Linked DNA regions of Homo sapiens: regions 1, 2, 3, 4, 5 and 7 are each linked to region 6. The links are contacts of gene promoters, found by promoter capture Hi-C in blood cells and fetal thymus (Javierre and others, 2016). All regions are on one chromosome and are shown on one strand. Each heading gives the region's core, a stretch centred on a gene start or on the middle of the fragment in contact. The rest is flanking DNA. Distances are from core to core; before and after follow the strand shown. Region 1 has its middle 54 kb from the start of RNF145. Region 2 has its middle 31 kb from the start of LINC02202. Region 3 overlaps IL12B-AS1 (IL12B antisense RNA 1). Region 4 has its middle 54 kb from the start of IL12B-AS1. Region 5 holds the start of LOC105377683 (a long non-coding RNA gene). Region 6 holds the start of ADRA1B (adrenoceptor alpha 1B). Region 7 has its middle 9.9 kb from the start of UBLCP1.

Region 1 (3,451 bases), core at 209-2,708, 760 kb after region 6:
TTTTGAAATCTTCTACACCCAGTGTTAGCAAACTTACCTGTGCTTCAGAAGTGTTTGGGAAGCTTTTTATTTTAAAAAAGTACACATTTCTGAACCTTACTTCTGATTCAGATTGAATCAGCCTTTTGGGGTGCCTGAGCATTTCAGAGCTTCTATCCAGCTAGCCTAGCACTAAGGCAGTATGACTTGTTGGCGGGGGGAAAGTATCTAGGCTAGAATTCATTTCTCCCCAGGTGTAGCTGGAAGTTTATCATCTTTTTGGTGCTCCGTGTTAGGCAGAAGACAAAGCAGATAGCTCCCTCTAGTGGTAGGAAGGCTGCTTATCCAAAGACCTAGCAGTAATGATCTGGGATTTTAATAAAAGTAGAGTTCTTTGGAATTACTTTCCACATTATAATACACTTTTTACTTCTTAATAGCAAATAGATCCCAGCTGTACATGCCAAATCAGATGAGTGTGTTAGTAGCCTTTTGGACAAATGTCACTGTGTGTCAGGAGGAATATATTATGTGGTTGTAACAGAAAACCTCAAAATTATAGTGGCTTTAAAACCACAAAGATTTATGTCATGCACGTACATTACAAGGATATCCTGTTTGGTGCAGACACTATCCTGTTTGGTGCAGACACTATTGAACTTTCTGGATGGTCATGCCAAAGGGAAGACTGCAAGGCTGTACACCAGCAATTACACGTTCCTCCCTGGTATGGACATGTCACTTCCACTCACTCCCTTGGCCGGAACTACTGATATGGCCCCACCAGCCACAACAGCACAGAAGTTGTCTTCCACGTCCTAGAAAGAGAGCATATCAGTGACCAGCACTCTGGTGGAGCAACTTCATTTTACAGATTATTTGAAATTTGGGAGCACACCTGTGAATGGTTCCAAATATACCTCTGACTTAATTTGTTATTTGTCCTTACATACTGGACAGTAGCATTGTATAATGCCATCCGTATTCAAAATCTAGCCATTTTGTAATAGCTTCCAACTCACTGCAGAGTTTTTGACTTAGGAAGAAGACAAAGTTTAACCACCTGGTTTGTTCTACTGAAGAGAAGATGAGAAAATTAGATTCAGTTCCTCTTCTATTATGCTTGATCAAATTGAGAGAATCATCAGTTCCCTTATGAGTCCTTTTTAGGTCACTTTTCTTGTCTACTTAATGGTTTCCAGTGTTTTCAGACAGTGCATACCTATTTTCACGCATCAATATTCCCTTAAAAACTTTGTAATAAGGTCTGTCACCTTATGCACTTTGCCATCAAAATTAGTACTGTGACAATCCTTTATCAGTCCTCTTGGATTTAGGGAAATGGACAGCACAGAGGGATAAAAGGGGCTTGCACTAAGGGCAGGAGCTCTGGATTATAATTCTAAGTCCTCTGTGATCTTTGATTAGCCTTTGTTTTTCTGGGCATCAGCCTCATCTGAAAAAAAATCATCACTGAAGTGTCATTCTGTTTCAGGTTTTGCCCATCTGTATTTTTAATCCTCACCACTGACTGAGTAATGAGCTTCATATTTTTGAACAGTTTTAAACTAGAGACAGATGCTTCATTTTTTTTTTTAATATGCTGTGCTACATATTAAACTTACCTAAGATTCGGTTCACCACTGTGTTCCCAGTGTCTGGTATAGGGCAGGAGCACTCTAAATATCTACAGAATGAACAAAGGAACTTAGCAGGTGGCTCCTCATATCCACCCTGTAGTTTAAAAATGGCAGAGAATTCTATTCTTTCCAGAGGCAGAGAGCATAATATTGCATGGCAACTAAATGAAGTAATTTCTGTGAGTGGGTTTTGATCGTCTTAACTGATCAGATCCTGAACTCAGTTTCTAGAGCAGAAATTACAAATTTGGGGCCTTCTGGGGGAAATCTGGGCTGATAAATTTTGCTTTGTTGTTAGGCCTCAGTGATAGATTTATTTTATTTTATTTATTTTTTTGAGATGGAGTCTTGCTCTGTCACCCAGGCTGGAGTGCAATGTCACAATCTCAGCTCACTGCAACCTCCGTTTCCCGGGTTCAAGTGATTCTCCTGCCTCAGTCTCCCGAGTAGCTGGGATTACAGACATGTGCCACCACACCTAGCTAATTTTTGTATTTTAATAGAGACAGAGTTTCACCAGGTTGGCCAGACTGGTCTCGAACTCCTGGCCTCAAGTGATCCACCCGCCTCGGCTTCCCAAAGTGTTGGAATTACAGGCATGAGCCACCATGCCCAGCCTCAATGGTACATTTTTAAATGATATTTTAAAAAATATTTGAATCAGTTGCCAACCATTTAAAAATTGCAAGATTGTATATGACAAACTCAATTTCTATTTTCTTGTGAAAAATTGGAAGTGCTGGCTGCATAGGCCACTCATCCTTGCTTGGCAACAGTCCGCATAAGCTGGGATGGGCTGAGTTTCTAATTCACCCCTGTCGTCTCCACCACAGCTTGCTCTAGCAAATTAGATTGCTGTCATCAGACTCTTCCGTTTGCTTAGAGGATGCCGTAAGTGAACACTGGGCAAATTCGACATCTCATTTAATCACAGTCAAATCCTATATGAATATGTATAGTGCAGATATTCGGTATTGATTAAAGTGAAAAGATTAAAAACCAGAAGCAATGTGTATAAATTTGACATTCATTTATGGAAGTATAGAACCTGTTTGTTTTTCTTTAATGACCGGAGTGCAGTAAAAGAAAAAAAAAATCAATGAGCAAGTGTTTTATTTGAAGATATTTTCAATTTGGATCTATGCTAGAATTTTGCATTTTGGTATCACCAAGTTGTTCCATGAGCAGTGTTTCTCAACCTTTGATGGGCGTTGGAAGCAGGTTGGGAAGCTTGTGAAAAATACAATGCCGGCCGGGCACAGTGCCTCACGCCTGTAATCCTAGCACTTAGGGAGGCTGAGGCGGGTGGATCACCTGAGGTCAGGAGTTCAAGACCAGCCTGACCAACATGGTGAAACCCCGTCTCTAGTAAAAATACAAAAATTAGCCAGGTGTGGTGGCACATGCTTATAATCCCAGCTGCTTGGGAGGCTGAGGCAGGAGAATCACTTGAACCTGGGAGGTGGAGGTTGCAGTGAGCCAAGATCGTGCCACTGCACTCCAGCCTGGGCAACAGAGTTGAGACTCCATCTCAAAAAAAAAAAAAAAGAAAAATACGATGCCTAGACCCAGTGCCATAGATTCTGACTGGGTAGGTTTGGGATGGAGCCTGGTATCTTACCTTTTCCAATTTTTCAGATGATTCTGATTCTATGGAAATGTGAGTACCTTTCATTTAAATATTCCTGCTATTTCAGTGAGAGGGGGCTGCTTGTTCTTGGATCTACCATTTTTATGGAAGAAGATTCTTAGAGAAGAAATACACATGAGGTTTGCCTCTGGGAAACATTGGTGGTTAAGGATTTCAGCAAACATTACAACCGATGGGGTTT
Region 2 (3,244 bases), core at 669-3,168, 790 kb after region 6:
TTTTTCTGTTTTGTTTTGTTTTTAAACTCAGAGCTTTTATTTATATAGTACTTGTTTTTAAGTTGACTCAGCTTTTTAAAATGTAAATAAAGAAAAAAATGTCATAGGCCCATCACAAGTGGAAACCAGTTCACTTGCCATAAATAAAGGTAACCACAAAAATAAATGTAATAAAAACAACGTAATATAATTAAATTCAAGCGATTGTTTGCCAAAGGCTCAGAGCATGAGTCTACTCTTTTTTCCTCCTTTTTTTAAAAGGGAGATTTGGCAGTGTTGAAGAGGAGTTGAAGACAGACCAGCCCCGAGACTTTCCTTTCAATGTCAGCAGAAGAATTGAGACTGAGAAGACCTTTCTCTCTGTGCAGTTTACAAAACCAACCACAATACTTCATGTACCGTCCAAAACCAGTCTCATGCTTTTATAAGCTGTTCTAAGCTATAAGATTCTTTTTTTTTTCTTATTCTTGATTCTTCAATATTTCTAAAGGGCATGATTAGAAATCATACATTATTAAATGTTTTCTTCAACATATATTTAAGCTTTCATTTTATTTTGGTATCCATTTCAGTTTTGTATTGGTTTAACTTCCCTTTAATGTTTATTTAAATTTGCCTTTACATTCAGTCTTCTTCCACTTAAAACACTCACTCTCTTTTTAACAGAGGAGGTGATATATACCCCTCTGCTGTCAATGTCGAAGCAATTACGTGCCACCAAATGGCTTGTGATGTGCCATCTCCTCCTGATAAAGGCTCATGATAGATAGGATGTGGCAGAGGTCAGGAATTCTGCTGAGTACAACCTGAGGGTATCCTTCAAATTGCTTGAGCTTTCTCCAAATCCCCTAGGACACAATCAGAAAACGAGTCCCCTTTAATTTTGGTGCAGAGCTTTTTTCTTCCTTCTTCACAGAGATTCAGAGTGAAGATGCGTTAGGCTGAGCCATCTAATTGCATTCTTTACTCCCTAACATTAGTTTAGCCCTTTCCTGCTTTGTATCATCTATTATAATTACTAATTTGCTGGCCACAATTAGCATAGGGGGTTTTATAGAAGCAGAAACAATTTCTTAGCTGCCCAATGTTACTAAATAATTTAAAAAGGGGAAGACAACGAATTTCCATCAAATGTGCTTTGTTTTCTTAATGCATGTGTTGCCATTAAGGAAAACCATTATAAGGTAAAGAAATCAGGAAATTCATAAAGATCAATACACCAATTATTTCCTGCATTATAAAAGTTACCTCTTCATAATTTTCTTTTCCTGGTGAGGTAGATTTAATTTGCTATTAGAAACTCAAAAGCTGAGAGGTCAGTTTCACTGTTCAAAACAGACTGCTCTTTGTCTAGCAGGAAACAATGTTTTCCCAAAAAAAAGTCCAGAGAGATCACATCCCCCAAAAAAATCATCATTGAAAAGGTTGATTATGAATCAATAGAAACTTTTTTTTCTATAACAAATTATGTTGAACTATACTGTACCCCCCAGGCCCCACCCCCAAATCAGAGTAAGAATCTCTTGGGGGTTTTTTGTTTGTTTTTTGTTAGTTTTCATCACTGTAACTATGCTGAAATTCAAAGCAGGGTGGGCAGATATTACACAACTTCATGAAATATACTAAATATACCAGTGGAAATCAAATGTGAGGCATGGTTAGTTTCTGCTGGCAGACTTACTTGAGATTTTCTGAAGAATTCTTCAGGTTTCCTCCAGCCCCATTTGTTCCTGATGCTGATCAGTGTTGATGATTCCATTATCTTCTTTATGTTACAGATTCCTCCCTCCCCCAATGTTCACTCTATTGTTTTATTATGTGTTGACATCAGCCTGCGGACGATGGTGTTCTGGCAGAGTCCCCTTCCGTGGCTTTCTGAATACCACTGGTAAGTGTACTTTGAGCCTCTTTCTGGAACTATATCCCCAGGGCTGCAAATTATACTTGATTTCATTGTTTGCAAGTGTGTAGAGCCAACATGTCTGTTTAAGATACTGAGCCAAGTATTGTCTTTCCAGTACATCTATAACTATTGATTCCTATGAGAGAGGCCTAATTATATTTGTGCTTATCTTAAAACCACAGCAATGAAAGAGGCTTTAAAAATTCCTTCATCTCATCTAGGGCCTGGGTCCGTCCCCATCCCCTATCAGCCTTCTGTGGTACAAGTAATAGAAACCAACTCTGGGCAAGTTAAACCAAAAAGGGTATTTGTGTTATTGAAAGGGGGTCTCCAGAAATAAAAAGGCAGCTGAAGAACCAGGCTAGGACGACTCAGGAACCATGAAGATTCTGGGGATCTAGGTGACAGGCACTGACCAGTGGTGTCACCCAGTGGTGACTCCAAGGAGATATTTGAGGATATTTGGAGGAACTTTAAACCCCTCCATCCTACCCTAATTCTTTGTGTGAGAAGTTGAGCTTTCTTACCTTTATGCAAAATGCTATACGAAGATAGGTTAAAGTGGTCCCCCAAATCCTGCCCTCAACAGACTGCCAGCCCCATCCCTTCTACATAGAAATTATAAGGCTGCCATTGAAACAACCACGGGGGGTGGTCAGCTTTGCATAGTCTTCCCAACCCCATACTTAACCACTGCAGAGAAGAGAGTCTTGGGGAAGAAAGTCCATCTGGACAATCTTAGGTGTGTGACCACCCTTCGGCCAGTGTCACTGTTTAAGTCAAGGCTGCCACAATAGAGGAGAGGTAATTCTTCACAGGGAAAATTGAGGGCTGTTCCCCAAGGGAAAGAGAATGGCCAAAAAACATGTGGCCACTACCTTACCAAGAGAGTGAGAATCACTTTCAGTGATATTGGCTGTGCTGACTCTTCAAGTAGCCTCTTGAGAAGATCTGGTGGTTGCAAATCCTGCCTTTCCTTGAAGAGAGCTCAGCCACCCACACCCTTCATGGCTTTCCTCTACTGATCCTGGCTACACATTCTTGAGCTCATCCAAAGCACGTCTTTCAGATGTTTGATGTCAGCTTGCAAGTCAAACTCTCTTTGCAAGTTGCTCTCTCCTTCTCTAGATATTTTTGGGAGCTCTGAACTAGCTATTTTATTTTGCTGGGTTGCGCTTGCCCCAAATCCTTACATGCCTGACTCTATTTCACCCTTCAGTTCTCAGCTCAAATTTCATCTTCTAGATGAGACCTAATCGGACAAATCAAGCTCAAGGCCCTCGTACTCAATGCTTCTCTCTGTCTGCCACCCTGCATACTCTTTATTGCAATATGAAATTA
Region 3 (3,431 bases), core at 462-2,961, 550 kb after region 6:
TGAAGAACACCTCAAAAGCACAAGCAACGAAAACAAAAATAGACAAATGGGACTTAAAGTTAAAAGCTTCTGCATAGCAAAAGAAATAATCGACAGAGTGATAAACAATCTGTGGAATGGGAGAGAATATTTGCAAACAATACGTCCAAGAGGGGACTAATATCCAGAATTTACAAGGAACTCAACTCAACAACAAAAAATAATCCCATTAAAAAGTGGGCTAAAGACATGAATAGACATTTTTCAAAACAAGATAAACAAATAGCCAACGTGTATATGAAAAAAGTTACACATTACTAATTATCAGAGAAATGTAAATTAAAACCACAATGAAATATCATCTTACACCAATCAGAATGACTATTACTAAAAAGATAAAAAAATAACAGATGTTGGAGAGGATTTGGAGAAAAGGGAACTCTTACACACTGTTGGTGGGAATGTAAACTAGGACAACCTCTATGGAAAACAGTATGAAGATTTCTCAAGGAACTAAAAATAGAACCACTATACAATCCAGCAGTCCTACCCAGCTGAGTATCTACCCAAAGGATAAGAAATCACTATATCAAAGAGATATCTGCACTCATATGTTTATCACAGCATTACTCACAATAGCAAAGATACGGAATCAATCTAAGTGTTCATCAATGGAGGACTGGATAAAGAAAATGTGGGGTATATACACAATGGAATACTATTCAACCATAAAAAGAATGAAATTATATCTTGTGCAGAAACATGGATAGAACTGGGGGCCATTTTCTGACATGAAACAACCCATATACAAAAAGACATGTTCCTCATGTTCTCACTTATAAGAGGAAACTAAATAATGTGTACACACAAAGCAGAATGTGGAGTCTGGGATAATGAACAATGGAGACTCAGAAGGATAGAAGGTTGGTGGGTGATGGTAGGTTGCTTGGTGGGTACAATGTGCCTTGCTCTAGTGATAAATGATGCACTGAAGGCCCTGACTTCACCACAGTGCAATATGTCAACAGCAAAATTGCACTTTACCCAATGAATATATATGAATAATAAAACAATGAGATACCACTACATACCTATTAGAATGGCACCAAAACACAGGCACCACCAAATATTGACAAAAATGTGGAGAAACAGGAACTCCCATTCATTGTTGGTGGGAATGCAAAACGGTATACTACTTTAGAAGACAGTTGGGTAGTTTCTTACCATTCAACTCGGCAAGTGCTCTTGGAATATTTACCCAAAGAGCTTGAAAATTTATATCTACACAAAAACCTAAACATGAATGTATACAGCAGCTTTATTCATAATTGCCAAAACTTAAAAGCAACTAGAACATCCTTCAATACGTGAATGGATAAATAAGCTATGGTATATCCAGACAATTAAGAATTATTCAGCACTGAAAAGAAATGAGCTAATAAGCTATGAAAAAACATAAAGGATATTTAAATGCATAAAAGAGTGAATTTTCTCATATTTCAATTATATCTCAGTAATTTTTAAATCTCTTTAAGGATGTTATCATTAGAATAAACTGAGTAAAAGGCACACAGGATTTTTCTGTGGCATTTTATACAAATGTATGTGAATTTACAGTGATTTCAAAATAAAAAGTTTTGAAGAAATAAATTTTTTAATTATGAGATTTTAAAAACCTCCTTAAGAGATGCACAAAGAAGAAAAAATGAGAAGAAAAAGGTTACACTAAAAATCAGAACTCAGGAGGAGTGTGGATCACAACCATGGGTTCAGATTTCGAGATGATTTACCCAAAGTCATATTCATGTGAGAGATGAAGATGGCTTCTTCATTCTGAAGTTGCTCAAGTTGTCAACAGAAATCTGCTGCCAGTGATGACTCAAAATGTTCCCCAAGATTTGGAGGAATCCCACAATCCTCAGCAACACACCACAGCTTGAGGTCTTTCCCCAAAAGCTCATGGTGGCAGTTCCTTATGAGAGTCAAGTCAATCTGCAACCATTCCAAATCTCCCAGCTGTACTTTCCACCAATGAAGAAGACCAACCCAGGACAAATGGCCTTGCCTAATGAGAGACTGGTGAACCACAAAAACACTTCCCAAAAAGTCCACAGGGTCACAAAGTGGCAGAGCTGTCCATGACAGTTGATGAAGTTCCTCTTTTGGGTTCCACATATGCCTAACAGACTTCCTCCCTTTGGTCCAGCAGCCTCAGCTCCATTAACCACAGGTGGGCATCACTATGGACTAAGTGGGGTGGGGCATTCTGGCAGGAAGCAAAGGGGTAAACAGTCAAAGAGAGTCTGAACTTCAGTTTGGGAAAAAGGCCTTCTCTACACCCATCTAGAAGCCAGAACTTGATTTTCATCAAAAGACTTGAGTTTCATCTCTGCTCAGTTATTGTGGAACCTTACAAAAGTTCTTTAACCTGTTTCCCCACCTCTGTTGGTGATAATAATACCTCTCAGGAAATATTAAGATGACACCTCTCGAGAAATATTAAAATGCAATGAGGTCATGGATATCCAAATACTGGATTTTTCCTTTTCCTTAAGTCAGTGTTTCCCAAGGTGTGGCCTACAAACTATTAATGGTACATAAGAAAATTTTAGATTAAAATAGACTTTTTAATTTTAATCCTTATAAACTTGACTTAAACGATACTAGAAAAAAACATAACTAGCTTTTCTACCTTGCTAAGATTAAGTTTAAAACTGAGTCAAAATAAAATCTACGTTAAAAAAAATTAGGTTAATAATTTCTAGCTGGGCACAGGGGCTCATGACTGTAATCCCAGCACTTTGGGAGGCCGAGGCGGTCGGATCACTTGACGTCAGGAGTTTGGGACCAGCCTGACCAACATGGTGAAATCCCGTTTCTACCAAAAAAATATAAAAAATTAGCTGGGTGTGGTGGCGCCCACCTGTAATCCCAGCTATGTGGGAGGCTGAGGCAAAAGAATCACTTGAACCCAGGAGGTAGAGCTTGCAGGGAGCTGAAATCATGCCACTGCAGTCCAGTCTGGGTGACAGAGTGAGATTCCCTCTCAAAAAATAATAATAATGATAATAATAATAATTTCTAAAATTTAGTAAGTATATATGGCAGAAATAATAAAGACAATTGAAATTTGAGAAATAATGCTTCCACCTATAAGAACCAGGCCTGTGAACCTCATCCTTGGGTCTCCTGGAAGGAGGATCTTCAGGCCTTCTGTATTTTATAATACAGTGCTCTCTTTGTAAGAACCCAGGGACACATTGTTTCTGGACATAGTGTTAGATGTAGTTGTACTTTTCCTAAACATTTGTCTCGTGGATATTGCAAAACTGTAGTTGGTTGAGTTTCTCTATTTGCACTGACAACAAGAAAGCTTAAAGCCCAACCCAACTTGGGGCTAGTTGCCAAATACATATAGGACTGTGTCACATTCATTTTTTTTTTATTTCAAT
Region 4 (3,564 bases), core at 667-3,166, 530 kb after region 6:
TCTGCAGAAAAAAAATCCTCCCCTGCAAAAGCAATTTCAAAAAATTGGAACAGGCAACTACTACAACAGATATTCAGATATTAGTGGAAGGACACAGGAAACATGAAAAAGTAAGGACCACAACAATTGTAGTCATAGATCCCAATCAAAAAGGATTCCTTGAAAAGCCAGATAAAAACTCAAAATATTAATTTTAAAGAAGTTCTATGAGATGCAAGAGAAATCTGAAAATGAATGCAAAGAAATCAGAAAATCAATTGAGTATATGAATGAAAAATTTACCAAGGAGACAGATATCATTTTTTAAAAATTCTGAAAATAAAAAATTTACTGAGAGAAATACAAAGTGCATTAGAAAGCTCCAACAGTACCATAAACCAAGCAGAAGAAAGAAGAAAGACTCTCAGAACTTAAAGACATGTCTTTTGAAATAATCCAGTCAGGCAAAAGTAAGGAAAAAGAATAAAAAAGAATGAGCAAAGCCTCTGAGAGAGTGGGGCTACATAAAGTGACCCAAAGTTATGAATTATCTCTATTCCAAAGAGAGAAGAGAGATTTAAAAAAAAAGTTTAGAAAACCTATTTAAGGAAGTAATTGATGAGAACTTCCCAAGTTGAGCAAGAGAGTCACACATCCAGATACAGAAGACTCAGCAATCCCCAGGCAAATCCCCTTTGAAAAAAGAACTTTACCTCAGTGTATTATATTCAGAATATCTAAAGTGAAAGTGAAAGAAAGAATTTTAAAATTAGTGAGAGAAAAGTGGCTAATTACCTATAAAAGGGAATCACATCAGACTAACAATAGACTTTTCAGTAAAATCTTTACAGGCTAGAAGAGAATGAGATGGTATTTTCAAAGTGCTGGGGAAAAAATAAAAACACCTATTAGTCAAGAATTTTACATCCTGCCAGAATAAGCTTCATAAATTAAGGAAAAATAAAGTCTTCTGCAGACAAGCAAATGCTAAGGAAATTTGTCACCACTAGACTGGTCCTACACAAAATGTTGAAAGGGGTCTTAAACATAAAAATGAAAGGTCAATATTCACCATCATGAAAACACATGGAAATATAAAACTCATAGATCTTATAAAAACAATCACACAAAGGAGGAAGTGAAAGGAATTAGGCTAGGCACAGTAGTGCACTCATGTAATTTCAGCACTTTGGGAGGCCAAGGTGGGTGAATCACTTGAGCTCAGAAGTTTGAGACCAGCTCAGGCAACATGACAAAAAATAAAAAAATTAGCCTGGCATAGTGACACACACCTGTAGTCCCAGCTACTTGGGAGGCTGAGGTGGAAGGATGGCTTGAGCCTGGGAGGTTGAGGCTATAGTGAGCCATGATCATACAACTGCACTCCAGCCTGGGTGACAGCATGAGACCCTATCTCAAAAAAAAAAAAAAACAAAAAAAAACCAGCCAGCCATGGTGGTTCACACCTGTAATCCCAGAATTTTGGGAGGCTGAGGCGGGCGGATCACTTGAGGTCAGGAGTTCAAGATAAGCCTGGCCAACATGGCGAAACCCAGTCTCTACTAAAAATACAAAAAAAATTAGCTAGGTGTGGTGACACACATCTGTAATCCCAGCTACGTGGAAGGCTGAGGCAAGAGAATTGCTTATACCCAGGAGGCAGAGTTTGCAGTGAGCCAAGATCACACCACTGCACTCCAGCCTAGGTAACAGAGTGAGACTCCATCTCAAAAAAAAAAAAAAAAAAAAAGGACTCAAACGGCAACACAATAGAATTTCATCAAATCATAAAGTCAAAAACAGAAATAGGAGAAATAATTTATAAAACAACTTGAAAACAATTCACAATATAACAGAAAAAACTTCCCATATCAAGACTAACTTTGAGTGTAAATGGATTAAATAATACTCCACATAGAAGATACAGATTGGCAGAATCATTTGTTGTCATTTATTTCAATAGTTCTGGGAGTATGGGTTGTTTTTGCTTACATGGATAAGTTCTTTAGTGATGATTTATGAGATTTTGGTGCATCCATCACGCAAGCAGTGTACACTGTACCCAATATGTAGTCTTTTATCCCACACCCCTCTCCTAATCTTACCCCCTGAATCCCCAAAGTCCATTACATCATTCTTACGCCTTTGCATCCTTATAGCTTAGCTCACACTTATAAGTGAGAACATACAATATTTGATTTTCCATTCCCAAGTTACCCTACTTAGAATAATGGCTTCCAGCTCCATCCATGTTTCTGCAAAAGAGATTATTTTATTCCTTTTTATGACTGAATAATATTCCATGGTACATATGTACCACATGTTCTTTATCCACTCGTTGGTTGATGGGCACATAGGTTGGTTTTATATCCTTGCAATTGCAAATTGTGCTGCTATAAACATGCATGTGCATGTGTCTTTTTCATACAATGACTTATTTTCCTTTAGGTAGATACCCAGTAGCAGGATATCTGGATCAAATGGTAGTTCTACTTTTAGTTTTTTAAGGAAGCTCCATACTGTTTTCCATAGTGGTTGTACTATTTACATTCCCACCAGCAGTGTAAAGGTGTTCCCTTTTCACCACGTCCACTCCAACATCTATTATTTTTTGACTTTTTAATTATGGCCATTCTTGCATGAGTAAGGTGGTATCTCATTGTGGTTTTAATTTGCAGTTCCCTGATAATTAGTGATGTCGAGCATTTTTTCATATGTTTGGTGGCTGTTTGTATATTTTCTTTTGAGAATTCGCTATTCATGTCTCTTGCCCACTTTTTGATGCAATTATTTGTTTTTTTTCTTGCTAATTTGTTTGAATTCCTTGTGATTCTGAATATTAGTCCTTTGTCAGATGCAAAGGAAAATTTTTTTCCATGCTATGGGTGGTCTGTTTACTCTGCTGATTATTTCTTTTGCCGTGCAGAAGCTTTTTAGTTTAATTAGGACCCATTTATTTATTTCGGTTTTCATTGCATTTGCTTTTGGGGTTTTAGTCATGAATTCTTAGCCTAAGCCAATATCTAGAACAGTTTTTCTGATGTTATCTTCTAGAATTTTTATGGTTTCAGGTCTTAGATTTAAGTCTTCGATCCATCTTTTTTTTTTTTTTTTTTTTTGAAACAGAGTCTCACTCTGTCTGGCTGGAGTGCAATGGCGTGATCTTGGCTCACTGCAGCCTCTGCTTCCCAGGTTCAAGAGATTCTCCTGCCTCAGCCTCCCAAGTAGATAGGACTACAGGCACACACCACCATGCCCAGGTAATTTTTATATTTTTAGTGGATACACAGTTTCACCATGTTGGCCAGACTGGTTGATCCATCTTGAGTTGAATTTTGTATAAGATGAGAGATGAGGTTCCAGTTTTATTCTTCTACATATGGCTTGGCAGATTTCCCAGCACCATTTATTGAATAGGGTGTTCTTTCCCCAGTTTGTGTTTTTGTTTTTCGTATGCTTTGTTGAAGATCAGTTGGCTGTGTTTGGCTTTATTTCTGGATTCTCTATTCTGCTCCATTGATCTACATGCCTATTTTTGTTTGTTTGTTTGTTTGTTGAGACAGGGTCTCGCTCTGTAGCCCATGC
Region 5 (3,368 bases), core at 2-2,501, 600 kb after region 6:
TGCATGCAATGCAGAGTTTTTCTTCTTTAAAGATAGTCTCCAGGACTGTCCTTTTTATTGTAAATCTAGCCACTACAAAATGTACTAAATGTCTAAGCCAAAGATCTTAGGACTGGGAATCAGAGGAGCAGACTCCAGTCCCAACTATGGTTACATAACAGACTTGTGACCTTGAGCAGGGTGTTGGAAACAGCCTGCTGGTTTTCCAATCAATACTCATTCCCAACTGTTTTCTCCCCGATGCCCTCTTCAGCTCTAAATGTTGGTAAGTTTAGCGACCACTTTTTCAGCCACCTTTGTTGCCCAGCAAAGCCAAAACACTGAGTTCTGGCCAATGAGATATAAGAAAATTCTGCTGGGAGGGTTGCTGAGAAGCTTTGGCTTTTCTGATGAAAGACAGAGCCATGTCTAGCATCACCCTTTCCTTCCATCCTCCTCTCTTGAGCAGAAAAAAATCTCGAGAAGCTTCAGAGGACACCTTGTGCCCAGTATGAAAGCCATCATGCAAAAACTCAAGCTAGAGACTTCAGGCTAGGCGCTGTGGCTCATGCCTGTAATCCCAGCACTTTGGGAGACTGAGGTGGGCAGATCACCTAAGGTCAGGAGTTCAAGACCAGCCTGGTCAACATGGTGAAACCCCGTCTCTACCAAAAAAGTACAAACATTAGCTGGGCATGGTGGTACACTCCTATAATCCCAGCTACTTGGGAGGCTGAGGCAGGAGAATCACTTGAACTTAGGAGGCAGAGTTTGCAGTAAGCAGAGATCACACAATTGCACTCCAGCCTGGGCAACAGAGTGAGACTTTGTCTCAAAAAAAAAAAAAAGAAAGAAAAAGAAAAAGAAAAGAAAAGAAAAAAGCCAGACTCCAGATCCTCATGGCATCATGGAGCAGCTGAACCAACCACTGTATCTACCTACCCCAGATTTCTTGACATGTGAGAGAGACAGATCCATATTTGTTTCTTTTTTTTATTGTGGTGAAATATTCATAACATAAAATGTAACATTTTAACCATTTTCAGGTGTACAGTTCAGTGGCATTAAATACATTCATATTGTTGTGCAACCATCACTCCACCCATCACCAGAACTATTTAATCAGACCCCCATCTATGAGAGGCTGCTGGCCAAGTCAGAAAAAGGACCCATGCCAGCACAGGAAGAAACCTGGGGTTTGGTGTCAGAAAACCTGGTTCTGCCCCTCACAGCTGGCATGGGCCTGGTGAAGACACGGAGTACTCGATTTCCAGAGACATCAGGTGGGGCTTTGGTGATACCCTGCTTCGCTGACCTCTGTGAGGTGTAAAACAAGTGAGGACATAAACCTGCAGGCCCCCTCCTGAAATCTTCAAGTGTCATACCCTTAGGAGTCCGTCTCCCCACTCCCATGTTCAAGAAGAAAGTGAGAAAACTAAGCACCAAAGGCAGCCATAGAAGCTGCCTCACGAGGTCCCTAACAACCCTGTGCAGGAGGAATTCTCATCCCATTATTACAGATAAGGAAACTATGGCCAAGGTCCCTGTTCCAAGGGCAGCCTGAGCATCAGCAGGACTCACCTGAAGGCGGGGAGAGATTGGGGATCCCACAGGAAAGCACCTCTACTGTCCTTTCATTCAGTATTTTTGGAGTCCCTGGTACCGTCTCTGTCCTTGGCACCATCCTCAACTTTTTGGATACAGGGGTGAGTGAGCCCCTGCCTTCCCATGGTTTCTCATCTCCAGAGGACCAAATGCTTGGAATTCTAAGCACTGGAGGCCACTTCCTAAGGATCAAGGGCACTATTGCATGAAATAAATAATTGGTTTAATGTGATGGTCACCGTGCCTGGCTCACAGGAAGCACTCAGTGAATGGCAGCTATGTCCACTGACTAGCTGTGATCTTGAACAAGTTATTTAACATCTTCGAGCCTCAGTTTTCTCATCCTTCAAATGGAATGATAGTACCTACCTCATAGTGTGGTTGTGAGGATCAAATGAAATAATGTTCAAAAATTGCTTTAAAATGTACCTGATCCAATAAGTAAAAGCTTACTGTAAAGTAAAATGTACCTGATCTAATAACTAAAAGCTTATTGTTATTAGTTTTATTGTGCTATTTAGAACCTGAAAGAAGCATAATTCTGGACCCTGTGCTTCTTGCAAGGTTTAGGGGATGAAGGGGTGGTTTTTACCTGGCCTTGGTGTCTCTGAGAACCGGGTTGGCATGGAGGAATCATTAATCAGCCAGTGGGGATGAGAAAGCTGGTCCAGTCTGTTAGCATATTTAAAAGCCTCTCCGGTGTAAAATCCCTTTCTTGTAAATAAAATCGCCAAAACGTCCCCACATGGGGGTATCAAGATGCCGTGAACCCCGTTCTTGCTTTCAGGGCTTGTACAGCCTGGTGAGAAACAGAAAAGGGAAATGGTGGTGAATATAATAAAATATAACCTGGCTACTAGCTGAGTTAAAGGTATGTGCACCATAAATATTTATTTTTACAAAGGTTTCCATCTCCCGGGAGGAGCCCTTTCATTCCCTTTCACCTTCTCTGGATGTAATGAATTTGGCATAATCCTACCAATTCACCTTACCTATAAATCAGACTTTAATCATCTCCGTTTCATTTCAGTGTAGTCCTTCTTCTAGGGCGGCGTTTGGGAGCAAAATATATCTGGACAAGACTTTCTCCAGAGGGTCATATTATACCAAGGAAATGAATTCCCTGTCTCAAGCTCATAAACCGCAAAAATAAAGCCAGCATTCTGGCTGAAGGCGGAGGAAACCAGACGCGCACACAGAAAACCCTCCTTCTGCGGGAAGCGCTGGGCGGAGCTGATTTGCATTTACCTTCACGCAGGCCTGGGTTCCGCAGGAGGCCTAGAGCGTTCCGGCAGCGCGCCCGCCCGCCCGCCGCGGTCGTGCGCAGCCACTCAACCCGGTGGATGCTAGCGTGTGACGGGCTGCAGGGCCCTGCCGCTGCTCACTAAGCTCCCCCGTCTCCTTTCATAAGGAGCACCATCCCTTCACTTCTATCCATCAGGCTGCTTGCAAAAGGAGCTAACCCGGGCATGTGGGATTCCAAGGAACTGAACATTCCGCCAGTGGCTCTGGGGTTTGGTGAAGAGGGAAAGTCGAGGGACAAATCTTGGGTAAGCCACAGTGTTCGGTGAGCTTCCTCCTTCCCACGACCAACATACAGATAGGTGTAATGAAGTTAAAATGCCAGCAAGAGAAACAACACCTGGAAGGAGTCCAGAGCACAGGGGTGCGCACTTGATCCTGAAGCAAGGCTCACACCTGGGCTCACCACTTACCAGCTTTTTGCTCTTAGGCAATTCCTTATCTCTTTGTGTGTGTGTCCTCACCTCTAAAACAAGTATGCT
Region 6 (3,157 bases), core at 587-3,086:
AATGCTGAATGAATGCTGCCTTTCTGTGTACGAGCTGCCTCCCTGCTTCCCAAATGCCGCGTCTGCAGTAACTACAAACTATTTTGTATGCTGCATTAGTGACGCTGCCTTAGCCGACACATCATTACTACTGAAATAACGCCGGTGTGATATTCAAGCCCAGTGAATATCCTTTTTAATTATTAAACCGAGGCTGTTGAGTGAGTCATTCCTCATACCAGATTTTCCTTCCCTGGTTCTATTTCCAGAAGCTAGTGCCTTAGCGTGTTCTACTAACACCTGAGTTGGTTTTTAGCCAGCTCCCCAATCTGCAAACCCTTTGCAGAACAAACAATATTATTCAATCTCCGAACACGCACAGACTGCATAAGAAACAAAACCCACAAAAAACTTTAGAGTAAGCTCATCAGTAAACCCAAGGTCCAAAAATGCCCAGTCCCCCTGCTGCTAGTCCCCAACTTACCAAGCGGTAGAGCGATGAAGAAGGGTAGCCAGCACAAGATGAACATACCGACCACAATGCCCAACGTCTTAGCTGCTTTCTTTTCCCTGGAGAACTTAAAAAGTTTGACAGCTATGGAACTCCTGGGGTTGTGGCCCTTGGCCTTGGTACTGCTAAGGGTGTCCTCGTGAAAGTTCTTGGAATGGATCCTCAGGGTCAGCTCCTTGGAGTTGGACATCTCCTTCATGACTCCTGCCTCTAGGTTCTTGGTGGTTCTCTTGGCCACTATATAGACACGGCAGTACATGACTAGAATGACCGCCAGAGGGATGTAGAAGGAGCCCAGAGAGGAGAAGAGGGCATAGAAGGGTTCTTCGGTGACCCCGCACTCCTTGTCATCGTTGGGTGCCGGCTCCTTCCACCCAAGGAGAGGCCCGATGGAGATGACGGTGGACAAGACCCAGACACTGAGCAGCGCCAAGATGGCCTTCCTCCGGGTGACCAGCGTGGGATACTGCAGAGAGTAGCGCACCCCGATGTAGCGATCGATGGAGATGGCGCACAGGCTCAGAATGGACGCTGTGCAGCACAGGACATCCACGGCTGCCCAGATGTCACAGAAGATCCGCCCCAGCACCCAGTAGCCGAGCACCTCTAGGGCCGCTGAGAAGGGCAGGACGGTGAAGCTCAACAGCAGGTCGGCCATGGCCAGGTTGACAATGAAGTAGTTGGTGGGCGTCCGCAGGTGCCGGTTGCAGGCCACAGACAAGATGACTAGGATGTTGCCCACGATGGCAAAGAGGATGAAGGCGCCCAGCACCAGGCCCACAGAGATGGCCCTGGTGATGTCCAGCTGGGGCAGTGTGGAGTTGCTCGAGGTCTGGTTGGGGCCAGTGAAGTTGGCATTTTTCAACTCTCCCCAGTGGGCAGGTGCTGATGTGTTGTGGCCGGTGTCCAGGTCGGGATTCATCTTAGAGTCCGCCCTCCATAGCCAGGGGGATGATTGGGCTCGGAAGGGCTGCGGCGAAGGCTCCTCAGCTGCCCTGAAACTTTGCTTCCCCCGTGGTCTTCTTCCCAGAGGCGCCCTCCTGGCGAGGAGTCATCTCCCCCGGGCAGCCCAGCCCGGCAGCACGTCTCCTGCCTGCACCGAGTCGCTCGCTCGCCTGTCAGAGGGAGGAGGAGGAGGAGAGGGGACGAGGCGGCAGCTCCAAGTTTAATGGTCCACGTCAGGCGCGCCTGGCCGGGCTCGCGGGGGAGCGGCGGGGAGGAGGGGGCGGCAGGGCCGGGGGCGCCCGGCGGTGCCCAGCTCGCTCGGGTCTGCGGACCGCGGCGCGTCCTCCGCCCAGCGAGCGCCGAAGAGGGTCTGCTTTCAATGAGCCGCTTCTGGGCTGACTGCACGGCGGTGACATCAGGCGGGGGAGCCCGGCGCCCTGACTCCGCGCGGCACTAGGGGGCAATGCGGGTCCAGCCAAGGCGCCCGCAGCCCCGACGCCGCCACCCCGCAAGCCGGGAAGCCAGCCGCGTCCCCCGCCGCTCCCAGGGCGCGCCCTCTGCGGGGGGCGGGGCGGGGGCAGGGGCCGCGAGGGCGGGACCTGGGCGTGGAGATCGCGGGTCACCCACCCCTAGGCGGCCCGCTGGGGTTATTTTCCCCGCTAGTCACTCTTCCGTGTCAAAGGTGGGTTGGGGGCTGCTTACCTTTAATAGGGGGCTCCCGGAGTGGGCCCCGGATTTAACGGGATATGCAACTTGTCCAGCACCTAAAAGAGGGAAAGAGAATTCTAGGATTGGGCAGGTGGGAGGGACTTGAGTCGGATCTGAGGCCAGCCCTCATCCTTCATCTGGCTCCCCTCGCCCCGTGCAAACTCTTTGGCCCCAGTAAAATCTGGCTTCTCTTCATCCTTTCATTCGCTCAGGCATTCACTCATTTATTCAGCCGATTCTTACGGAGTCTCCACTCTCTGCCCTGGCTCTGGGCGCTGTGAACATAGCAACTGAACAAAATAGACGGACTCCTGCCCTATAGGAGCGTAGCTTCTCCCGACAGAAGACAGACAGTATACTAAATAAGCAAATGATGAGGTGTGTAATGTGATGACAGGTGTTAGGCTGAAAATAAAGTAAGGAGGGGGAAATGCAGTGGGGTGTTTGTGGGGTGGATTTGAAATGTTAAGTGGGTGCTTGGGATGTCACTGAAGTGATATTTGAGGAAACATGAAGGGAATTGAGGGAGGAAGCTAGCTGGCTATCTGGGAGTGGGGGTGAGGGAGGTCAGAGACCTGGGGAAGGGACGTAGAGGATCTTGGTTATTTGTTGAGTTTTTTCCTTTCTGTCTGATATCCATGTTGGACATTCAGTCACAGGGACGCACTCCCAAAGGTGGGTGAATGGTACTTAGAAGAGAAAGTATGGGCCAAGAAAGAAAGAAAGAAAAAGCCAAAGAACTTTATGTTAGTTCACATTTATCCAACATTTATTTTGTCCTAGACAGTGTGCTGAGTTCTTTTTGCATTTTCTCATGACTCTCATGAGAGAAAGAATACACTCTTCACCATTTCTATTTCATGGATGAGACACCAAATTATGGGGAAGTTTAGCTGTTCGCCCAAGTTCACAAAGGCATGGAGGAGAGCTGCTGGGAACTGAACTCAACTGTGGGGTCTCTCCCAAAGTTGGGTACTCAGCTACTGTGTCATACTTTTCCCCCGGGGCAAGGTA
Region 7 (3,479 bases), core at 110-2,609, 660 kb after region 6:
GCATGGGGGAAACCACTCCGATGATCCAATCACCTCCTACCAGGACCCTCCCTTGACATGTGGGAATTATGGGAATTACAATTCAAGATAAGATTTGGATGGGGACACAGACAAACTATGTCATCATGTAGATACCCACTGTCTTGCACCTATCAAAACTGCAGACTCTCAGAAGGAAAGCAGCTGTGCAGCAGAAGCTACATTGTTTGCCAACAGTCTAGTCTCAGTGAGCCATTCTTATCATTTGGGGAAAGTTTCATATCTGTATAGGAACTGTAGGATGTTCCCAGATGCCAGCCAAAGACCAATCTTGCAAGCAAGAATTTCTAAGGATGGCAGGCTTAGGCCTCCCATGGTAACTTTTCTGCATATGTGGTTATTAACTAAATGTTTTCTGCCTTACCAGGCTGTTCCTTTCCTGGTCCTTTGTCTAGAGACAGCAGGCTTGGGGTAGGGATGGGGGAGTGTTACATGAACCCCCTGGCATTTCTAGGTTGCCTGTATTGCCAGTACGTAGTCTGGGATATATGAAACAAAAAGAAATCCCAAGGAATTTGCTAGCATGTTTTTTAAGGTAAATAGCCAATCTGCCTTATTTCTACCTTCCAGAGTCCCCTTATATTTATTTTACATATACTGTCCAGGATTTTTAGCTATACTTAGCAGAAGAATAGGGAGACGTGCAACTGGAACTGTCTTGGAACTGGAAATCTCTGTATTACTTTTACAATGAGAAAAAAAGGCATTTTTTTGTTTTCGTTTTGAAAACAAAACATATCTATATATGACACAGCAAACAAAACAAAACAAAATAAATGAATAAATATGATATAGCAAGCTTAACCTAAATATAGGGCTGAAAAGTTACCAACAGGAGTGAAAAACATTATCATGACTTGATTCCACTTATTCTAACAGTAAAATGCATTTTCTCTCATTTATAAAAATAACATGTACTCGGCTGGGCGCTGTGGCTGACGCCTGTAATCCCAGCAGTTTGGGAGTCTGAGTTGGGTGGATCACCTGAGGTCAGGAATTTGAAACCAGCCTGGCCAACATGGTGAACCCCATCTCTACAAAAAATACAAAAAATTAGCTGGGCGTGGTGGCAGGCACCTGTAATCCCAGCTACTCAGGAGGCTGAGGCAGGAGAATAGCTTGAACCCAGGAGGGAGAGGTTGCAGTGAGCCAAGATTGTGCCATTGCACTACAGCCTGGGCAACAAGAGCGAAACTCCGTCTCAAAAATACAAAATAATAATAATAATAATATGTACTCATTATAAAAAACTGATTCTACTTTTCTTTGACACAGGTGGTTAATATATTAGTTTTCTTTATTTAGTAAACAAAATGAAAACTTCAAAGTTAGTAAAGATTGCAGGGTGGCAGAATATCTACATTCATTTAATTTCATTATCATTTATAGAGAAGAATATAGAGTAGAAATTTTCCCACAGTCAAAGGGTGGAACAGACCTTCCATAGATGTCCCATGCACAGTTTTAATAGGAACAATAAAATGTGTGCTTCTCTTTTATATCCAAAGTCTTGTGCATTAGAGATAGTATCTTCTTACTTATGGAATAATAATTACAATGTCCCAACCCACAAATTCTAGGCTAATGAAACTATTTCTGAGATGAAAATTTTAGCATAATATATTGCTGCCTAATCACATTCACTATGAAATCTTAAAAAAGAACATCAAATTGTTATGTTGTAGTATTTAACATTATGAAGTAATTTCATTTATTTGTTTTTTTACATCCACAGTGACTCATAAGTGAATAAATTAATATCTCCCATGCTTCAAAAAATATCAATGAAATGTTTAGACAGTTACAATCTAAACATTTACAACACAACAAGGCAAGCTTTGATTACCAATAAGCTATCTGTAATGACTAGGCTACCTTGTTTTATTCATTATGCTTCCAATCTTCAGGAGACATTTCTTTAACAATGTGTTTATTTCCAAAGAGCATTAGACAGGGTTCTAGAAGCAGCCTTGCCTAAAATTGCCCTCCTGACCTTGAGGCAATCAATTTCCCCTGACCTCAATTCCATTTGTAAAAATGAGTTTATTGAATAGCCAAAAGACAAAAAGATAAATACGTTCTGTGTTTCAGAGCCTCTATGGTTTAATAGTTCTCAGACAACAGCCTATGGGCCTGGGCTAGATTTTGACAGTTTCCATCAATCTTCCGTTTGCAAAATGAGAAACATAAGCATCACGTAATCCGTAAAACCAAATGGAAAATTCATGTTCTTCCTCTTTATTGACAGCTATTATTACTTCCCTGATATCTGCATATATCTCTCCTGGAATTTTCAGAGCTTCATCATTCATACTTAAATAAATTTTATAGAAAATTTACATTTAGTATGTAGAATTTTATTGAAAACATCAAAGTAGTAATTTTTTTCTTGCTACTGTATAAATATTACCTCAAGTGACTTGTTTTGAAATATTATTTATGGTTTTAAATAACAGAAACTTAAACATGCTAGCTTGAGCCTAAAGGGAGTTGAGGAGAGGAAGCAGGAGAGCAGTATTAGAAAGAGCACAGTACCAGACACAGTTATGCCTGTCGTTGAACCAGGAGTCAAGGTGAGTCCAAGATCCTCAACAATAAATTCTAGATCCATAGACCTTCTCTCAAGAACACTGCCATTCATATGACTCTGACTCCTAGTTTCTGTATTGCTCAGCTCCAAATTCCAAAATCCTGAGATAGAATCTTATTGGCCTCACTTAGGCCACATGTCCTTCTCTGAACCAATCAGTTCTGCCTAAGGGATCAGGTTCTGCCTGAGCTTGTCCCTGTGTACTGGGGAGGGTTCTCAGGGATGAGACCCTCTCTGTAGGCCTATTAGCCACTCCTGAAGTTATTCTACACTGACAGTTAACAGTGTTAATTACTTTCCTAAGAAGTCTCAATATTACTTTTCCTTATCTCAATATTCTAGTTAATTTATTATTCATTCACCCACTCTATTTTTTAATGATAGTCACATTTTATCCATAAGAAAATCACTCATTTTCTTCCTCTCCATTCATATCTTAGCTCTTTGGATTTACATTAATTTTAAATTCTACCACTTGGAAATGTATTTTCTGCTGTCACTGCTACTAGCAAATGTAAAAAGTATTAAATAGTTCCAAATTAGTTTATGACTCTCCAATCTTGAAATGCTCCATATTTTAAATCAACAGTGATTTCTACATTAATTTTTTTCTTAAAATTACTCTTTCTGAGGTTGGGTGTGGTGGCTTACTCCTGGAATCCCAGCACTTTGGGAGGCTAAGACAGAAGGATCACTTCAGGCCAGGAGTTTGAGACCAGCCTGGCCAACAAAGTGAGACCCTGTCTCTACTAAAAATAGAAAAACTTAGTCAGGAGTGATGGCACATGCCTGTAGTCCCAGCTACTCAGGAGACTGAGATGTGAGAATCACTTGAGCCCAGGAGTTCAAG

The links. Contacts are between HindIII fragments. The CHiCAGO score rates a contact against its expected background, and 5 or more counts as called.
Region 1: a contact is called between a fragment that was not itself captured here and the fragment with the promoter of ADRA1B in region 6, in 14 of 17 cell types (M2 macrophages, naive B cells, megakaryocytes and 11 more). The highest score is 13.4, in M2 macrophages.
Region 2: a contact is called between a fragment that was not itself captured here and the fragment with the promoter of ADRA1B in region 6, in 1 of 17 cell types (M0 macrophages). The highest score is 5.2, in M0 macrophages.
Region 3: a contact is called between a fragment that was not itself captured here and the fragment with the promoter of ADRA1B in region 6, in 5 of 17 cell types (M2 macrophages, M0 macrophages, megakaryocytes and 2 more). The highest score is 7.0, in M2 macrophages.
Region 4: a contact is called between a fragment that was not itself captured here and the fragment with the promoter of ADRA1B in region 6, in 3 of 17 cell types (M2 macrophages, naive B cells and total B cells). The highest score is 6.5, in M2 macrophages.
Region 5: a contact is called between a fragment that was not itself captured here and the fragment with the promoter of ADRA1B in region 6, in 6 of 17 cell types (megakaryocytes, total B cells, M1 macrophages and 3 more). The highest score is 12.3, in megakaryocytes.
Region 7: a contact is called between a fragment that was not itself captured here and the fragment with the promoter of ADRA1B in region 6, in 1 of 17 cell types (naive B cells). The highest score is 5.2, in naive B cells.

Annotation. Positions count from the first base shown.
Region 1 is chr5:159,153,800-159,157,250 of GRCh38, reverse strand. No RefSeq gene overlaps it. Among named protein-coding and RNA genes, the nearest start is that of RNF145, 54 kb to the left of the region's middle. RefSeq lists an enhancer at 35-164. The HindIII fragment of the contact is 2,787 bases long and covers 65-2,851 here.
Region 2 is chr5:159,129,705-159,132,948 of GRCh38, reverse strand. No RefSeq gene overlaps it. Among named protein-coding and RNA genes, the nearest start is that of LINC02202, 31 kb to the right of the region's middle. The HindIII fragment of the contact is 2,746 bases long and covers 546-3,244 here.
Region 3 is chr5:159,361,022-159,364,452 of GRCh38, reverse strand. IL12B-AS1 (IL12B antisense RNA 1) reads right to left here. Exons shown (of 5, transcript NR_037889.1): 5 at 1,619-2,245. Among named protein-coding and RNA genes, the nearest start is that of IL12B-AS1, 31 kb to the right of the region's middle. The HindIII fragment of the contact is 3,286 bases long and covers 69-3,354 here.
Region 4 is chr5:159,383,322-159,386,885 of GRCh38, reverse strand. No RefSeq gene overlaps it. Among named protein-coding and RNA genes, the nearest start is that of IL12B-AS1, 54 kb to the right of the region's middle. The HindIII fragment of the contact is 1,988 bases long and covers 923-2,910 here.
Region 5 is chr5:159,310,223-159,313,590 of GRCh38, reverse strand. It overlaps LOC105377683 (a long non-coding RNA gene), which reads right to left and starts at 2,769. Exons shown (of 3, transcript XR_941138.3): 1 at 2,577-2,769; 2 at 2,177-2,383. The HindIII fragment of the contact is 1,567 bases long and covers 468-2,034 here.
Region 6 is chr5:159,915,161-159,918,317 of GRCh38, reverse strand. It overlaps ADRA1B (adrenoceptor alpha 1B), which reads right to left and starts at 1,836. Exons shown (of 2, transcript NM_000679.4): 1 at 464-1,836. The coding sequence starts at 1,412. RefSeq lists enhancers at 646-1,262, 1,263-1,879 and a silencer at 1,943-2,002. The HindIII fragment of the contact is 3,740 bases long and covers 1-3,157 here.
Region 7 is chr5:159,251,687-159,255,165 of GRCh38, reverse strand. No RefSeq gene overlaps it. Among named protein-coding and RNA genes, the nearest start is that of UBLCP1, 9.9 kb to the left of the region's middle. The HindIII fragment of the contact is 1,037 bases long and covers 841-1,877 here.